Regions from separate parts of the Homo sapiens genome. Here region 2 is linked to region 1. The links are contacts of gene promoters, found by promoter capture Hi-C in blood cells and fetal thymus (Javierre and others, 2016). All regions are on one chromosome and are shown on one strand. Each heading gives the region's core, a stretch centred on a gene start or on the middle of the fragment in contact. The rest is flanking DNA. Distances are from core to core; before and after follow the strand shown.

The links. Contacts are between HindIII fragments. The CHiCAGO score rates a contact against its expected background, and 5 or more counts as called.
Region 2: a contact is called between a fragment that was not itself captured here and the fragment with the promoter of ADGRG1 in region 1, in 1 of 17 cell types (megakaryocytes). The highest score is 5.2, in megakaryocytes.

What each region holds. Positions count from the first base shown.
Region 1 is chr16:57,627,236-57,629,879 of GRCh38, reverse strand. It overlaps ADGRG1 (adhesion G protein-coupled receptor G1), which reads right to left and starts at 1,250. Exons shown (of 14, transcript NM_201525.4): 1 at 1,078-1,250. RefSeq lists a silencer at 1,139-1,208 and enhancers at 758-1,413, 1,414-2,069. The HindIII fragment of the contact is 3,448 bases long and covers 1-2,626 here.
Region 2 is chr16:57,738,429-57,741,072 of GRCh38, reverse strand. The region is part of intron 2 of KATNB1 (katanin regulatory subunit B1); the gene reads right to left. Among named protein-coding and RNA genes, the nearest start is that of KATNB1, 4.0 kb to the right of the region's middle. The HindIII fragment of the contact is 6,249 bases long and covers 1-2,644 here.

The sequences.
Region 1 (2,644 bases), core at 1-2,500:
CCCAACTCTACCACGCAGGGGAGGTGGGTTGGGGACGGGGGAGGACAGGAATCATTGGTTTCCTACACACTCCCAGCCCCCGCGGGGACCAGGGTGGGAAGTCCTATCAGTGCCAGGCAGATGGAGCCCTGAGGTCTGGTGGCAACGGGCAGGGTGTTCAGCCCGCAGCCTGCGCTTCCCCGTCTGCCTGTCACCGGTTCCAGGACTCTCACCCACGTGGCCCACGTTCAGAGACCCTGCGGGGCCACCTTCTCCCAAAGCTGGCCTTGGTGATGAAGAGCACGGCTGTCCCTTGCTCAGTGGGGACCCCGGACCCAGCCCCAGGGACAGCTGCAGGAAAGCTGTCCTCAGGAGTTCCCTCAAGTGCCACCCCCTCCCTGAGCCTGGCCCCTGGCTTTCTATACCTGGATGTGCTAGGTGACCTTGGGCAAGCCACCTGCCCTCCCAGAGCCTCGGTTCTCCCATCTGTGTAGTAGGAGCACTGATCTCACAGCCTAAAGAGCAGACCCCAGCTTGCTGGGCCCAGTGACTGTACCACTCTGAGCCTCAGTTTCTCCAGCAACAAAATGCCTGGGAGCCCCGGGAGGTGTCGCTCCCCTTGGGCCCCAGTCCCCTCCCAGGCATCTCCTTGTGGGTCCGCCCCCACTCTAGAGACCCACCCACAGCCATGCTGACCTGGACTAGATCCCACCAAGATACCAAGACCCCCCCATTTCCCCATTTCACCACCATCCCTACCCACTGTCCAACAGCCACCCGTGCACGGATGCACACATCCACACTTACACTCACATACACTCCCACACTCACACTCACACTCATACTCACACACACTCACTCACACTCTCACACTCAAACGCTCAGTCACACTCTCACACTCACACTCACATTCTCACTCACTCTCACACACTCACACTCACACACTCTCACACTCTCACGCTCACACTCACACTCACACTCACTCTCACACACTCACACTCACACACTCACACTCTCACACACTCACGCTCACACACTCACACTCTCACACTCACACTATTCCCCTTCCCACCTGCTGTCCAGCCCTTGTTTGGGTACCTGCTGCCAGGTGGAGGGTCCCACGCAGGGCCAGGCGGCTGGACCACCTTTCAGGATCCACCCCCAGAGGCTTAACCTGCCAGCCCTGGTCCCCGCTGCCTGCCGAGTGAGCTGGAGAGCGTGGGAGGCTCCCAGCCCATCTCCTACGGCAGGGCAGGGCAGACAGCTAGTGCGGAGAGGGAGGGACCGGGTTTGTTTGGTGGGGAGACACCCCTCTCCTGCCCCAGCTGGGCTCCTCCCTCCTCCCTGAGCTTGACTGGGGATGACGGACGATATATGTGAGTCATGGATTTCTCAGAGGGAGACCAGGAGGGGGCAGGGCTGAGAGCGCTGAGGCAGTGATCCTGGGGGATGCCCATGACTCAGCGCCGGGCAAGGGGGCACCTCAGCCTCACCCCTCATCCAGGCAGACAGTGTTCAGGGACAGGAAGGGGCCGGGGATCACTCTGCTTCCTCAGCCTCCATCTGTCGCCTCCCAGGGCCAGTCTCCCCAAAGTTCCCACAGAGAGGCCGGGGTTGCCACGGCAACAGGGCCCTTGGATGCTGTCCGCCCACCCCCCAGGTCAGGGCGACAACTGCCCTTTCCTGAAGGAGAGTCCAGCCTCCTTGGCAGCCGACGGGAGCCAGTGCTGACCGGCAGAGCGGAAGGCAGTCGGGAGGGAGCGGGTGACAGGCAGCCGGGCAGGAGGCCAGCCAGGCCACGCACGACTGACCGGCTGACCTGCGTCCCCCCGGGGGGTGACCCGTCTCCCCTCTCAGTGCTCCTCAAGCACCCACAGTTTCAACATCCCAAGTCATTTTGGATTCTGAGACCCCAGGGGCTTCTGGAAACGGCCTCCTTTAATCCATCTGCTGAGCCAAAGGGGAAACCGAGGCCTGGGTGAAGAGCCATTCCCAGTGGCCCCAAAAGCTCAGACAGAGAAGTGTGGAAATGGACCATGCCCCATCCCCCTTCTGGTCATTCCTCTGTCAGCAGCACCTCCCGCTGCTGGGGTTCAGTGCCCTTCTCGAGTCAGGAGGCTTTGGATAACTCACACTCCCTGCAGAGGCTCCTGTCTGCCCTCCTCCTCCGAGCAATGAGGATAGATGATTCCTCAGTCAGATGTGCTGGGAGGCTTTTACAATGCCAGAAGGGTGAGTGGTGACAATAACAGTAATTACACTCGCTGACCACCGTCTGCATTCCAGCTCCAGAGCGCCCCTGGCAGTGGAGAGAAGTCAAACCTGCTACTCAGACCAGTGCCTGGTACTTGCCAAGCCCTCAATAAATACTCCCTGTGAATGTGGTGATGAAGAAGAGGGAGCTTAAGGCAGATACATGTAGCTCAGAGATGAGAATTAACCTGCCCAAGATCACACAGCAGGGAGGTGCCCGAGTTGGGATGGCGGGAGCACAGGCCGTCTGGCTCCATAGCGGGTCTCCTAACCACTCAGCAATCCAGCACCCCAGGCCTCAGCCTGGGGCCTGGACACGTGGATGCTTGGGGAACTTGAGATTCCTTCTCTCCGGTAGAGATCTGCCTTCTAAACAAGGGGGCCAGGAAAAGCTTCCCCATGCCACGTGGAG
Region 2 (2,644 bases), core at 99-2,598, 110 kb before region 1:
CTGCTATTGCGTGGCCTTGGCTACTAGGTCACTTGTCCTCTGAGGGCCTGGCTCCTCGTCTGGAAAGTGGGGATGCCCGTGGTGTCTGCTCACACCTGATGCTGAGGACTCCCTCAGAGCGCGCCTACGTGCTGCTTAGTAGCAGGCGAGGGCTCCGTGACATTGGGCAGGCTCGGGGCTAGTCACCATGAGAGAGTGGGCATGGGGGCCTGGGCGGGCACCAGAGGGTGGGCTTCATGAGGAGGGGGCAGGAGGCAACAGACTGAGCAGCTGGGGTGGGGGTGAGGGCTGACCACACAGAGGAGGAGCCTGTGCAGACAGCCCAAGGCCCTGGCCTGGTCCGTGGAGATGGCAGACAGGAGCCTCGGAGGACTCCGCAGGGAGCAAAGCACAGGCAGGGAACCAAGAGGCGGCCCGGGCCTCAGAACCCATCCCTGCATGAGCTCCTCCTGGAAAGAAGGGAGAAAAAAGACAGTTCTCCCCACACAGGCCAGGGGAAAACCCCAAGGTGCTGACGCCCCGAGGCACCCGGAAGGCCAGCGTGGGTGACGCCAAGGAAAAGGGTGTTGGAGCCACGGCGCTCCACAGAGGCCCCTCCTGCACCCCAGCTCCGACTCCACCCTGCCTGGGTGTCTCTGCTGCGGGCTTCAGACCACAAGGAGGTTGGGAAACTGGGCCCAGGGAAGCTGCTTGCCAGAAACCTGGGCTCCAAGGGGCCACCAGGAATACCCAGGGGACAAGTCGCAGGCTGAATCTCACTGATGACACCCTGCCTCCTGGGCCGGTCGGGGCAGAGCCAGCACAGGCAGCAGCGCCAGCAAGGGCGAGGGTTCCCTGTGGGCCCAAACCTGGGCCAGGGCGCTGGGAGTTCGCCATGGGGATCCCAGGGAGCTGGGCCCCACTTTAGTCCCGTCTCGATGAGAGCCTTCTGTCCTCTGGACACTGTCGGGACAGAAACCTGAGGAATTCCAGCCACAGACGTGTCTGTTCAAGGTTTCCACCTGACCCAGAAAGAGGGCAAAGCACCTTCTCCCTGGCATTCCGTGCCCGAGCCTGGTGTCCTCTCCGTGGAGGCACTGCTCGCTCCCCCTGGCCTACCTGGAGGGCTCTGTCTGTCCCCTGGCCCTCACTCCTCCCAGGGAAAGTGTCTGGCTGGGCCCCACCTCACTGGGCCTCAGGACTGCTGCCCCTGGAGTCAGGGGCATTCATTCATAATATCAGTATTTCCTGGGTGCCTGTTCTAGGCCTTGCACGAAATATGCCCCAGTATAATCAGATGGTGGTGGGGGCGGGACACTGAGCTGGCAAAACCGCAGACTTTGGAGTGAGAAAGATTTAGAAGTTGGGCCCTTCTGGAGGAGCCCACATCACTCCCCTCTAAGCAGCCTGACCAGGGACTGACTGGAGCCCACAGAGGGAGGGCAGAGGGGCAGGGACACAGCACAGGCACCTGCAAAGGAGGCACGGGGCACCACCCCAAGAGCTCCTCCTTCATCCTGGCTTGTTGGACAGCAACCAACAGCCCAGGCCGAATACTTGATTTTCATACCAAAAATAAAAAATAAAAATCCTCAGTGTCTACTGGCAGGCCAAGCTCTGGGAGTACAACCTGGGCCCCACATCCAGCCAAAGCTGGGGAACATGGTGCGGCGTGGCCAGAGGGGCTGAGGATCAGCATCCCAAATGCAAGATACAAAGTACTAGGTTTCAACGACCTCATGTGGGCCACGCACCTCTGATCCTCACCAGACCCTGGAGCCACAAGGAGCCAGAGGTCACGTGGCCCTGGGCTCTTCAGAGTTGATTCCCACGGACACCACCGTGCACATGAAATCAGCAGCAGCAGCAGATGCCCAATACGCCTGATCTCATTACCTCCTGCTCGCACACACTGATGGCTTGGCCTTGCCTTTATGATAAAGCACGGCAGCCTCAGGAGGGCTGGGGTCCTGAGAACTCAGTAGGTCCGTGCGGCCCCACATTCCTCCTGCTGCTGTGCCACTGCCCATGGCCTCCCTTGAGTCCTTCCAATACACTGAGCCTCCTGCCTCAGGGCCTTTGCACTTGCTGTTCATGCAGCCTGCAGCATTCCCACCCCACCCCTACCCCTACCCCCCAGCTAACTGATTCAAAGCACAGGCACCAGCTTGCAACTAGAGGAGACACAGAGGGATACGGTTATCCAGTTCCTGCCTGTTGCTCTCCCCAGGCTCTGAGCTCCCGCTGTACAGAGACCTTGACTACTTTGTCCCCCAGTGGCTCCCCAGTGCCTAGCTCTGGGGAAAGGCCAGCTGTCGAAGGGATGAATACGTAATCCCAATAATTACAAAGCCACTCTGACCAAAGTGTGCCTTCCTTGGGGAACCATAACAGGGTTCTCCCAGAGCCCTAGAGTTTTGGGGAACAACATGAAAATGGCCCAAACCTCTCACTTTACAAACAAGGAAACAGAGGCCCTGCAAAGAGCTTTGCCCAGAGTCTTATGGTTAAATTCATGGTTAAAAAGTGTGGAGTCTTGGCCAGGCATGGTGGCTCATGCCTGTCATCCCAGCACTTTGGGAGGCTGAGGCACGTGGATCACCTGAGGTCAGGGGTTCGAGACGAGTCTGGCCAACATGGTGAAACCCCGTCTCTACTAAAAATA